3 separate regions of the Homo sapiens genome follow, and regions 2 and 3 are each linked to region 1. The links are contacts of gene promoters, found by promoter capture Hi-C in blood cells and fetal thymus (Javierre and others, 2016). All regions are on one chromosome and are shown on one strand. Each heading gives the region's core, a stretch centred on a gene start or on the middle of the fragment in contact. The rest is flanking DNA. Distances are from core to core; before and after follow the strand shown. Region 1 holds the start of PAPOLB (poly(A) polymerase beta). Region 2 has its middle 31 kb from the start of RBAKDN. Region 3 has its middle 14 kb from the start of RBAKDN.

What was found. Contacts are between HindIII fragments. The CHiCAGO score rates a contact against its expected background, and 5 or more counts as called.
Region 2: a fragment that was not itself captured here is called in contact with the fragment with the promoter of PAPOLB in region 1 in 6 of 17 cell types (M2 macrophages, endothelial precursors, erythroblasts and 3 more); the score reaches 9.9 in M2 macrophages.
Region 3: a fragment that was not itself captured here is called in contact with the fragment with the promoter of PAPOLB in region 1 in 10 of 17 cell types (M2 macrophages, erythroblasts, endothelial precursors and 7 more); the score reaches 10.8 in M2 macrophages.

What each region holds. Positions count from the first base shown.
Region 1 is chr7:4,859,553-4,863,933 of GRCh38, reverse strand. PAPOLB (poly(A) polymerase beta) reads left to right here and starts at 1,904. Exons shown (of 1, transcript NM_020144.5): 1 at 1,904-4,381. The coding sequence starts at 2,124. The coding sequence ends at 4,037. The region is part of intron 2 of RADIL (Rap associating with DIL domain); the gene reads left to right. RefSeq lists an enhancer at 2,049-2,661. The HindIII fragment of the contact is 2,297 bases long and covers 929-3,225 here.
Region 2 is chr7:5,100,673-5,105,053 of GRCh38, reverse strand. No RefSeq gene overlaps it. Among named protein-coding and RNA genes, the nearest start is that of RBAKDN, 31 kb to the right of the region's middle. The HindIII fragment of the contact is 4,338 bases long and covers 269-4,381 here.
Region 3 is chr7:5,084,050-5,088,430 of GRCh38, reverse strand. No RefSeq gene overlaps it. Among named protein-coding and RNA genes, the nearest start is that of RBAKDN, 14 kb to the right of the region's middle. The HindIII fragment of the contact is 5,458 bases long and covers 1-4,381 here.

The sequences.
Region 1 (4,381 bases), core at 655-3,154:
AAACCTCAGGATTGTAGCTGATTCTGAAACTAGAACCGCCCTAGAGGCATTGGCCAGTCTTGGAAACTGAGAAACTTAAGTTTAGCAGCTGTCCAAGAAGAGACAGAAAGCTCTTGGGACCTTAAAAGGTAGGGAGTTAGAATTGAGACCCCTCCAAATACAATTGGAATCCTCAAAGGGTGACACATTGAGTGAAAAAATGGAGTAAGAAGAATCTGCTACCTGGTGAAAGGAGATGGCAAAGGAAGTTCTCTCTCTTGACTTGGGTGGGAAAAACTAAAGACTGTTCCTTAAAAATGAAAACCACATGTCCTCTTACATGTATTTGGGGTTCAAAGTTGCACCATCTAGATGTTGTGGATAATCCCTGGATAAGAAATTACACTGACTGCAATTCTATAGTGTACAAGAACATCTACTGGAAACAAAGCAAATCCTCTTTGGAAGGACACAGCGTCTACACAGGCATTCCAAGCTTCACCAGAAATGAGCTCACAATCCAAAATTACAAGACCCAAGAGGTAATACCACTCTGAGTTCTTGGATAACAACAAACTATACAGTTTCTCAAGAGCATTCGGAATTAGAATAATTAGTTATAGAGTACTAAATAAGTATGTTTAACACGTTTAAAGAAATAAAAGGTAGGGGGAAAAACATGAAAGAACAGAATGCCATCTAAAAGGCAGAGAAGCTTGGAAAAGAACAAAATAGTGAAATATAAGTATTTAAGTGGATATTTCAATGATGCTTAAACAGCAGACTAAATACAACTGAAGAGAGGACTTGGAGGTAATCTGGCATCACCCAGAAAGACACACGGCTTAAGAGACATGGAGGACAGAGTGAGAAGGTTGACAACGTGTCTAGATGAAGAGAATCAGGAGACAAGTGGGAGAACATATTCCCAGGAAGTGCCCAAGAAGCTTCTGGAGATCATAAAAAGCATGACTTCTGATTCGGGAATCATAGTGTATCCTGGGTAAGATTATATTTTTTATTTTTTATTTTTATTTTTAATTTTATTTTTTTTTTTGAGACAGAGTTTCACTCTTGTTGCCCAGGCTGGAGTGCAATGGTGTGATCTTGGCTCACCGCAACCTCTGCCTCTCAGGTTCAAGCAATTCTCCTGCCTCAGCCTCCCGAGTAGCTGGGATTACAGGCATGCACCACCACGCCCGGCTAATTTTGTATTTTTAGTAGTGACGGGGTTTCTCCATGTTGAGGCTGGTCTCCAACTCCTGACCTCAGGTGATCTGCCCGCCTCGGCCTCCCATAGTGCTGGGATTACAGGCGTGAGCCACTGCGCCCAGCCTGGGTAAGATTATTAAAGAGAAATCTATGCCTGGACACACAGTGGTGGGATCACAGGGCACTAGGGACAGACACTTTTATAGCTGCCATAAGAAAAGACAGACGAGCAGTAGTTCACCTAGCTGCGGAATTCTCAACGGGAACCAGAGGACAGCAGTATCGCGCCCTTAAAGCATGGCCAGAACACAAATGTCGACCTCGAAATGCTGCCCCAGCTAAACCAATGTCCAGCAACGGCCCAAGAAACAAGACAGAAGCTGCTTTCCACCGCGGGTTCCCACCACGAAGGGGTCTTTGGACTTCCAAAGGGTGCACGCTAGGGTGAAGAGTGCTGAGGGTGCCCCCAAAAAGGATGCACATCTGCGATGTCAAGGGACTTGGAGAGCAAAGAATTAGATGGGTAAAGTTGGGCAAATATGTAAAATAGTGGCAATAAAGGGTTGAGTTTGGCCGGTCATCAACAACGTGAATCCTGCCCACCCCCATGTATAGCCCCCCGCGCAGCGGTAGGAGCCCCAGCCCAGAACGCTGTGGCTCCCGTGAGCCCTCGCGCTGGCGGCGGGTGCGCAGGCGCCCGCGCGTGTACGGTAGGTTCTGGAACGCAGCCGCTGAGGGGTCTGGCGCCATGTTGGGGCTGAGGGGAAGGAGGAGAAGCTCCTGAAGCGGCGGGCGCGCAGCGGGAGTGGGAGTGGGGTCGGACCAGGGCAGCTAGAAGCCCTGCCCTTCCGCCTCAGCGGATCATGACCCGGGCGGCGGCCGCGAAGGTCGCGGTGGTGGGGGACGTGCCCTGGCGGGGCGGGCGCTGAAAGATGATGCCGTTTCCGGTGACAACCCAGGGACCACCGCAGCCGGCGCCGCCGCCGAATCGCTACGGCGTCTCCTCGCCTATCAGTCTAGCGGTCCCCAAGGAGACGGACTGCCTCCTCACCCAGAGGCTAATAGAAACCCTCAGGCCCTTCGGGGTCTTCGAAGAGGAAGAGGAACTGCAGCGCAGGATTTTAGTTTTGGAAAAATTAAATAATCTGGTAAAGGAATGGATACGCGAAATCAGTGAAAGCAAGAGTCTTCCCCAGTCTGTAATTGAAAACGTTGGAGGAAAGATTTTTACGTTTGGCTCTTACAGATTAGGAGTACATACGAAAGGCGCAGATATTGACGCCTTGTGCGTTGCACCAAGTCATGTGGATCGAAGCGACTTTTTCACCTCATTCTATGCTAAACTGAAACTACAGGAGGAAGTGAAAGATTTAAGGGCTGTCGAGGAGGCATTTGTGCCAGTTATCAAACTGTGTTTTGATGGGATAGAGATTGATATTTTATTTGCAAGATTAGCACTACAGACTATTCCAGAAGATTTGGACTTAAGAGATGACAGTCTACTTAAAAATTTAGACATTAGATGCATAAGAAGCCTTAATGGTTGCCGGGTAACCGATGAAATTTTACATCTAGTGCCAAACATTGACAACTTCAGGCTGACTCTGAGAGCCATCAAACTGTGGGCCAAGTGCCACAATATCTATTCCAATATATTAGGTTTCCTCGGAGGTGTTTCCTGGGCCATGCTAGTAGCAAGAACTTGTCAGCTTTATCCAAATGCAGTAGCGTCAACTCTTGTACGGAAATTCTTCTTGGTATTTTCAGAATGGGAATGGCCAAACCCAGTGTTACTGAAGGAGCCTGAAGAACGGAATCTTAATTTGCCTGTATGGGACCCAAGAGTAAATCCCAGTGATAGGTACCATCTTATGCCTATCATCACACCAGCATACCCACAGCAGAACTCCACATACAACGTGTCTATTTCAACCAGGATGGTCATGATTGAGGAGTTTAAACAGGGGCTTGCTATCACACACGAGATTTTGCTAAGTAAGGCAGAGTGGTCCAAACTCTTTGAAGCTCCAAGCTTCTTTCAAAAGTACAAGCATTATATTGTACTTCTGGCAAGTGCATCAACAGAAAAACAACATTTAGAATGGGTGGGCTTGGTGGAATCAAAGATCCGAATCCTGGTTGGGAGCTTGGAGAAGAATGAATTTATTACACTGGCACATGTGAATCCACAGTCATTTCCAGCACCCAAAGAAAATCCTGATATGGAAGAATTTCGTACAATGTGGGTGATTGGGTTAGGGCTAAAAAAGCCAGATAATTCTGAAATTCTCAGCATTGATCTCACCTATGATATCCAGTCTTTCACAGATACTGTTTATAGGCAAGCAGTGAATAGTAAGATGTTTGAGATGGGTATGAAAATTACTGCAATGCATTTAAGAAGAAAGGAACTTCACCAGCTGCTGCCTCATCATGTGCTTCAGGACAAGAAAGCACACTCAACAGAAGGTAGAAGATTGACAGATTTGAACGACAGCAGCTTTGACTTGTCTGCAGGCTGTGAAAACAGCATGTCTGTGCCTTCATCTACTAGCACTATGAAGACAGGCCCATTGATTAGCAGTTCTCAGGGTAGAAACAGTCCTGCCTTGGCTGTAATGACAGCATCTGTGGCTAACATACAGGCTACTGAATTTTCCTTGCAACAGGTGAATACCAATGAAAGTTCAGGGGTTGCATTAAACGAAAGTATTCCTCACGCTGTCTCTCAGCCTGCCATTTCTCCATCACCAAAGGCCATGGTCGCCAGAGTTGTTTCTTCAACATGTCTCATAAGCCATCCAGACCTTCAGGAAACTCAGCAACAAACATATCTAATCCTATAGTTGGAGTCTAGAGGATATTCTTGCCTCATAAAGAAGAAAGGACCAAGAAAACCAAAACGGAAGAGGAGAAACTCAATACAAAGACAAGTACAACTCCATTAGAAAAATTCAGACAGCATCTTCTCTATTGGCCTCTCAGGGAACATCAGTATAGATCTTTCCGGTATCCCTGTTCTCCCTGCAAATCCAATTCCTGTTATCAAGAATTCAGTAAAACAGGTTGAATGGTTAAAAACAACCTCAAGGGTCCATGAACAATATCTGCCAACTGAACCTGTTGTCTTCAAATACTAAGGAAGGAGAATGAGGGGTACGGGACTAGATATGACTTGAAATAGATTGAG
Region 2 (4,381 bases), core at 1,188-3,687, 240 kb before region 1:
TTTACTAATTTTATTTTTTTAAAATTAGCCTGCCATGCTGGAGTGCACCTGTAGTCCTGGAGCCACAGCTACTTGGGAGGATGAGACAAGAGGATCACTTGAATCCAGGAATTCAAGGCTACACTGAGACGCGATCACACCATTGCACTCCAGTGTGGGTGATGGAGCGAGACCCTGTCTCTAAAAATTTCATCTCACATACCAGCGTGAGACCCCCTAGCAGAGTGATTAGAGTGTGTGTTTGAGCCAGACTGCCTTGGTCAAAGCTTTGCTCTCCCACTAACTAGAGACAAGTGACTTAACCCTCTGCCTCAGTTTCCTCAACTGCAAAATGAGGATCACAGTGGAATCGATTTTGTAGAGGAAGGAAGACCAAATTAGTTAATGGATATAAAGTGTTAGAACATAGGAAGTACTAGGTAAGGGTTGTTAAAGCATTGCTAATAATGTTATTGACTCTGATTAATTAGCTGGGAGGCTAAAAAACAACAAGCCAGTAATGGACATGTCCAGACTCAAGACCATCATACCTGAGTTCCAGCCTTCTCTAACTCTCCACTCTTTAGTTGGCCAGGCTCAATTGGTCACCTTCCTATCCTGGAAGGAATACAAGTCCTAACAATGACTCCTAAGAGAGGAAGAGATCAACTTTAAGTTGAGGAGAAGATGACTTGGATTCTGAATGGAAGAAGCCCAGGTTCCAACAGTCACAATATGGACCCAGCATAGCTTTGTGGTCTCAACCTCTACCATCTTCTACCTCATTCCTTACGAGCTATACAACAACCTGAATGTGCCCCACTCACTCATTTCTCCCAGAACTATTTTTTTTTTTGGCGGGGGGAGGGGGTGGTTTGAGATGGAGTTTCACTCTTGTTGCCCAGGCTGGAGTGCAATGGCACGCTCTCGGCTCACTGCAACCTCCGCCTCCCAGGTTCAAGTGATTCTCTTGCCTCAGACTCCCAAGTATCTGTGATTACAGGCACGTGCCACTACGCCTGGGTAATTTTGTATTTTTAGTTTAGAAACATGGGGTTTCACCATGTTGGTCAGGCTGGTTTTGAACTCCTGACCGCAGGTGATCCACCTAACTTGGCCTCCCAAAGTGCTGGGATTACAGGCATGAGCCACCATACTGGACCATTTTCCCCATTCTTATACATACCTCTCCAATATCACAATGACCTTTTCCCACCTGGAAATTTACTCATTCTTCAGGCCCAGATGAAACGTCAGCTCCTCTGTAAACAAAAGTAAGAGCGGAGTCAACTGTAGAAGGATTTTGTAGGAAATGGGAGGAGACGGACTCTACCACACCTTTCTCCCTTATCTCTGTCAATCTTTCAACTTCTATTCCCAGTAAGAAGGGAATACTTATACTCTTAATAAGAAAATAGTTACTTAATAGGTTTCCCAGGGCCCACTTAAGGGTCTGGCTTGATCCAAAGCCCCAGGGCCTCATTACTGATCTTCTCCCCCAACACTGTGGTGCCTAAGTGACAGGATGGTCTCTGAAGGATGAGGGCTGGAGGGATGAGAGGGAGTGGAAGAGTTGGGAATTCAAAACTGCCGAATCCTGGGGGAATCTGAAACTTCTGGGCTAAGGGGATAAGAGGCCACCTCCCTGCAGTGATGAAGAGACTGTACAAGTCTTGGGATAAACTTGAACCTAGGAAATGAATAGCCAAAATACCTATCTCCAGAGAGGTAGGCAGCTCTCTGGAGAGAGGAGAGGAAAGTTACAGCTCTGTCCACATTTTCTTAAAATGTAAACCAAAGGGTGGCCAGAAGACGGATGATCTCAGAGTGGACTGATTCTTGGTGTAATGTGATCAAGATGGTGGACTAGGAGGTCCTAGCCCTTGTACTCCCACAAAAACAATGATTTAACAACTATCCACAGACTAAAATAGCTCTGGGAGAACTCCCAGAGTCCAGTTAAAAAGATGCAGCCACCGAGTAGAGCAGAAAAGCCAAGAATAACTGCATAGAAAAGAAACATGACATCACCAAAGGAACACAACACATTTCAAATGACCAACCCCAAAGAAAAGGAGATCTATGAATTAACTGAAAAAGAATTCAAAATAACTGTTTTAAAGAAGCTCAGCATGTTACAAGAGAACACAGATACAACTCGTCAAAATCAGATAAACAATATATGAACAAAATGTAAAGTTCAACAGAGATACAGAAATCACAAAAAAAGAAATTCTAGAGCTGAGGTGAACAAGGACTAAAATGAAAAAATGCCATTTAGAGCTTCAACAGCAGTGGCTTATGCTTGTAATCTTAGAACTTTGGGAAGCTGAAGCAGGCAGATTGCTTGAGGCTAGGAGTTCAAGACCAGCATAAGCAACACGGCAAAACCCTATTTAAAAAAAAAATTTTTTTTTAAATTATCAGGGTATGGTGGTGTACACCTGTAGTCCCAGCTACCCAGGAGGCTGAGGTGGGAAGATCACGTGAACCCAGGAAGTCAAGGCTGCAGTGACCCATGATTACACCACTGCACTCTACCCTGGGTGACAAAGTGAGATCCTGTCTCAAAACAAAACAAAACAAAAAATCAATGAACATGAAGATGAAGATAAGTCATTTGAAATCATTTAGTTAGAGGAGAAAGAGAGGCTACAGTGAGCCATGATCATACTACTGCACTCCAGTGGGAAACAGAATGAAGGAGGGAGTGATGAGAAATTGGTTAATAAGTACACAAATACAGTTAGATAGAAGGAATAAGTTCTTGTGTTTCATAGCACAGTTGGGTGACTATAGTTAGCAATAATTTATTGTATATTTCAAAATCGCTAGAAGAAAATATTTAAAATGTTTCCAACACAAAGAAATGACAAATAGTTGAGGTGATGGATATCCTAATTACCCTGATTTGATCAATACACATTGTATGCATGTAGTAAACCTTGAGGCCAGGGTTTTGAGACCAGCCTAGGCAACAAAGCAAGACCCTGTTCCTGCGGGGAAAAAAATTAAACAATTAACCAGACATGATGGTGTGCACCTGTGGTCTCAGCTACTTAGGATGCTGAAGCAGAAGGATCACTTGAGCCCAGGAGTTCGCAACTGCAGTGAGGCAGGATCACACCACTATACTCCAGCCTGGGTGACACAGCAAGACTTCGTCTAAAAAAAAAAAAGTTGGGCTAGGTGCAGTGGCTCACACCCATAATCCCAGCACTTTGGGAGGCTGAGGTAGGTGAATCACAAGGTTAGGAGTTCGAGACCAGCCTGGCCAATGTGGTAAAACCCTCTCTCTACTAAAAATACAAACAATTAGCTGGGCATGGTAGTAAGTGCCTGTAATCCCACCTACTCGGGAGCCTGAGGGAGGAGAATCGCTTGAATCCAGGAGGTGGAGGTTGCAGTGAGCCGAGATCGCGCCCCTGCACTCCAGTCCGGGCGACAGTGGGAGACTCTGTCTAAAAAAAAAAAAAAAAAAAAAAAAAAATTCAGCCGGGTCTGGTGGCTGACACCTGTAATCCCAGCACTTTAGGAGGCCGAAGTGGGCAGATCACCTGAGGTCAGTAGCTTGAGACCAGCCTCACCAATGTGGTAAAACCCTGTCTTTACTAAAAATACAGTATTAGCTAGGCGTGGTGGCACGTGCCTGTAATCCGAGCTACTCGGGAGGCTGAGGCAGGAGAATCACTTGAACCTGGGAGGTGGAGGTTGCAGTGAGCCAAGATCGTGCCAATGCACTCCAGCCTGGGCAAAAAGAGCAAAACTCCATCTCAAAAAAAAAATCTCATCAAAGAAGAACCACAGATTCACTGCTGAATTCTACCAAACATTTAAAGTACCAATGCCAATTTTTCTCAAACTTTTCCAGAAAATCGAAGGGAAGGAATTCTTCCAATATCATTCTACAAGGCCAATATTACTCTAAGACGAAAACCAGACAAGAACACAACACAAAAAGAAAACTACAGGCCAATATCCCTGATGAACACAGATGCAAAGATCCTTAACAAAATACTAGCAAACCAAATCCAGCAGCACATTATAAAGATCCTTCACGGCCGGGCGCGGTGGCTCATGCCTGTAATCCCAGCACTTTGGGAGGCCGAGGCAGGCAGATCACGAGGTCTGGAGTTCGAGACTAGCCTGGCCAACATGGTGAAACCCTGTCTCTACTAAAAATACAAAAATTAGCTGGGCGTGGTGGCACACACCTGTAATCCCAGCTACTTGGGAGGCTGAGGCAGAAGTACTGCTTGAACCTGGGAGGCGGAGGTTGCAGTGAGCCAAGATCGCACTACTGCACTCCAGACTAGGTGACAGAGTGAGATTCTGTCTCAAAAAAAAAAAAAAAAAATCCTTCACTGTGATCAAGTGAGATTTATCCCAGAGATACAAGGAT
Region 3 (4,381 bases), core at 678-3,177, 220 kb before region 1:
GCTCACTGCAACCTCCGCTTCCTGGGTTCAAGTGATTCTCCTGCCTCAGCCTCCTGAGTAGCTGGGATTACAGGCATAAGCCACCATGCCCGGCTAATTTTTGTAGTATTAGTAGAGACGGGGTTTTACCATATTGGCCAGGCCTGTCTCAAACTCCTGACCTCGTGATCCACTCACCTAGGCCTCCCAAAGTGCTGGGATTACAGGCGTGAGCCACCGCGCCTGGCCAAAGTGCTATTTCTGTTCCCATTCTGTGGACAAATAAATGAGATCTTAATGGGGTATTTGGGGTACGAGCTGGAGGGGTTGCTCTCAGCCAGTGTCTTTGCCTGCAATATTGTCCCCCATTTCATGCACACCCCAATACTGAAACTTACCCCATTGCTCTTGCAGTAGACTGAACATGTTCCCCCCAACATTTATATGTTGAAACCTACCCTCTAAGGTAATGGTATTATGAGACATGGGCCTTTGGGAGGTGATTGGGTGTTACCCTCACGAATGGCATAGTGCCCTTATATTAATAAAAGGGATGGCCGGGTGCGGTGGCTCACACCTGTAATGCCTGCACTTAAGGAGGCTGAGGCTGGAGGATCATGAGGTCAGAAGTTCAAGACCAGCCTGCCCAACATGGTGAAACCCCGTCTCTACTAAAAATACAAAAAATTAGCTGGGCATGGTGGCAGATGCCTGTAATCCCAGCTACTTGGGAGGCTGAGGCAGGAGAATGGCTTGAACCGGGGAGGTGGAGGCTGCAGTGAGCCGAGATCATGCCACTGCACTCCAGCCTGGGTGACAAGAGTGAAACTCCATCTCCATCAATCAATCGATCAATCAATGGGACCCCAGAGAGCTCCCTCTTTTTCCACCACATGAAGACACAACTAGAAGTCTGTGATCTGGAACCCAGAAGAGGACCCTCACCAGAAGCTGACCATGTACCCTGATCTCAGATCTTCAGTCTCCAGAGTTGTGAGAAATAGATATCTATTGTTGATAAGGCAGCCAGTCTATGGGACTTTGTTATGGCAGCCGAGACTGTCAAAGACAGCTCTAGAGGGGCTATGTGTCCAGGAGGGGATGAATCAGTCTTTTACTTCTTCTTTTTAAGACAGGGTCTCGCTCGGTCACCCAGGCTGGAATGCAGTAGTGTGATCTCAGCTCACTGCAACCTCTGCTTCCTGGGCTCAAGCGATCCTCCCACCTCAGCCTCCCAAATAGCTAGGACTACAGGCACGTACCACCATGCCCAGCTAGTTTTTGTAATTTTTGGTAGAGACGGGGTTTCGCCATGTTGCCCAGGCTGGCCTTGAACCTCTGAGCTCAAGTCATCTGCCCACCTCGGCCTCCCAAAGTGCTGGGATTACAGGCATGAGCTGCCGCGCCCACCCTCTCCTTTACTTCTCAGCTGTGAATGTTCTCCCATATCCTCGGACTCCCAGCCTGCTCCCAGGCTTCACAGTCCTATCTGATGAAGTAGGGGAGCACCAGCCACCCCCTTATCTCTCTAGCTCAGTCTATCCCCTCCAGGGGCTCTGGACTTCTCTCCAGGGCAGCCTGACCTAGGGGCGACACAGGAGTTTCCTTGACACTGGTACTATCTCTGAACATCTCTGCCTCCATCTCTGTTTTGAGGCTGGTCCATGGAGTCAATGAAGGGGTCCCCTCCTCTCCCCCAAAACCCTCATCTTAGCTCCTGCTTTTCCCAGGCCCTAAGATCCTGGGGGCAGGTCTTGTAGAGGGGGAGCCCTTGTGGGGGGCTTCAGGTACCCGCACTCTTTAGGAACAGGCACAGGTCTTGATGTTGCAGGCACAGGTCTGGATATTGATGGGAAATTGCGGTCAGAGTGGACAGCACCACCCATTCCCGGCATCTCCCATGATTTGGTCTTCAAGCCTTCACCTCATTCTCTGCCCACCTGGATCTTGTCAGCCCCAGAGAGAACCTGAGTCCAGAGGAGAAGCAGAACCCAGGCCACTGGGCAGTGGCAACCGCACAGACACCGACATCCCTGGGAGAGCCTGAGCCCACCGCCCAGAGCTCAGAGCCTGGAATAAGCAGCCCAGCGAAGAGCCCCGCTCCACCGCCCAGAGGAGCACCAGAGTGAGCTCGGCCTGGAACCCAGAGACCATCTTCAAAATCTCATCCCCAACCTCTCATAAATGCCACCTTGTCCCTGGCCCCCCTGTAATTACTTCAGCCCCTTGTTCCCTTCACAGCAGTAATTTTTTTTTTCTTTTTGAGACAGAGTCTGCCTCTGTTGCCCAGGCTGGAGTGCAGTGGTGCAATCTCGGCTCACTGCAACCTCCGCCTCCCGGGTTCAAGCAATTCTCCTTCCTCTGCCTCCCAAGTTGCTGGGATTATAGGCCAGCACGCCAGGCTAAATTTTTTTTTCTTTTTTTGAGACGGAGTCTCACTCTGTCGCCCAGGCTGCAGTGCAGTGGCGCAATCTCGGCTCACTGCAAGCTCTGCCTCCCGGGTTCAAGCGATTCTCCTGCCTCAACCTCCGGAGTAGCTGGGACTACAGGTGCCCGCCACACGCCCGGCTAATTTTTGTATTTTTAGTAGAGACAGGGTTTCACCGTGTTAGCCAGGATGGTCTCGATCTCCTGACCTCGTGATCTGCCCGCCTGGGCCGCCCAAAGTGCTGGGATTACAGGCGTGAGCCACCGCGCCCGGCCGATTATTTTAATAAGATGATTGAACATCTTCCTTATTAGATTGTAACCCACAAGGGCATTTATGTTGCCTGCGATGTCCCCCGGTCCTAGGGCAGCCCACCTGCTGATGCAGTTCTGAGTGCTGCCACCAGGGGGCAGGGCTGCCTCGCACTTGTCATGGGGACAGCGGCAGGACCCTCAAGAGGGCTTTAACTTGGTTGGGTTCGTATCTGCACCGGGCCATATCTGCACCTGGGAATACTCCACTCCCTCCCTGAGGTGTGAGTGGGGATGCTCCCAGCTCCAGGAGACACAGCTGTGGTGTCGCTGGCCAGGGTGCAGCTTTCTAGAGAGGTTCCATTTTCACACCTCCAAGTTCAGACCTTTTCTTTCCCTCTGCAGACTGGGGCGAGCGACCACCCAGCCCAGTGTAGAGGGGGTCTCATGTCTTACCACTCTTCATTTACACTTTTTTTTTTTTTTTTAAAGACGTCGGGTTAGCTCACCCCTGTCATCCTAGCACTTTGGGAGCCCCAGGCAGTCAGATCACGAAGTCAGGAGATGGAGACCATCTTGGCCAACATGGTGAAACTCCATCTCTACTAAAAATACAAAAATTAGCCGGGCATGGTGGCGGGCGCCTGTAGTCCCAGCTACTCAGGATGCTGAGGCAGGAGAATTGCTTGAACCCGGGAGGCGGAGGTTGCAGTGAGCTGAGGTCATGCCATTGCATTCCAGCCTGGTAACAGAGCAAGACTCTGTCTCAAAAAAAAAAAAAAAAAAAAAAAAAAAGGGACATAGGGTCTGGCTCTGTTTCCCAGGCTGGAGTGCAGTAGTGCAATCACAGCTCACTGCAGCTTCCAGCTCCTGGGCTCAAGCAATCCTCCCACCCCCGCCTCCCAAGTAGCTGGAACTACAGGTGTGCACCACCACATCTGGCTAATTTTTCTATTTTTATTTTTTGTAGAGATGCGGGTCTCACTATGTTGCCCAGGCTGGTCTCGAACTCCTGGCCTCAAGAGAGTCTCCTGCTTTGGCTTCCCAAAGTGCTGGGGTTACAGGCATGAGCCACTGTGCCCAGCCTTCACTCTGACTTTGAACAGGCCTCCTGTTCGCAGCCCACTGCACATCTCCACCCTCTGGCGCATATGCTTCCGCCAATCCCAGAGCCTTTTCCTCTTTGACTCCCCTCCCGAGGAGTGTTTGCCTCTGAAGAACTTAGGCTTCAGGGTTTTTTTTTGAGACAGGTTTGCTCTGTTGCCCAGGCTGGAGTGCAGTTGTGCGATCTCTGCGCACTGCAACCTACACCTCCTGAGTTTAAGCGATTCTCCTGCCTCAGCCTCCTAAGTAGCTAGGATTACAGGCCCCTGCCACCACACCCAGCTAATTTGTGTATTTTTAGTAGAGATGGGGTTTCACCATCTTGGCCAGGCTGGTCTTGAACTCCTGACCTCGTGATCCACCTGCCTCAACCTCCCAAAGTGCTGGGATTATAGGCGTGAGCCACTGCACCCAGCCTGGGCTTCAGCTTTGCTCTACCAGGGGTTGCCATTAGTAATGTTTCTCCTAACACTGTGTGGACGTCTCTTTTCTACCTTTAACTGTATTCATGTTCCCTTTATCTTGGTGGGGTTAAGCCAAAAAAGGGGGATGGGGGCTGGATGCAGTGACTCATGCCTGTAATCCCAGCCAAGGCAGGAGGATCACTTGAGCCTGGGAG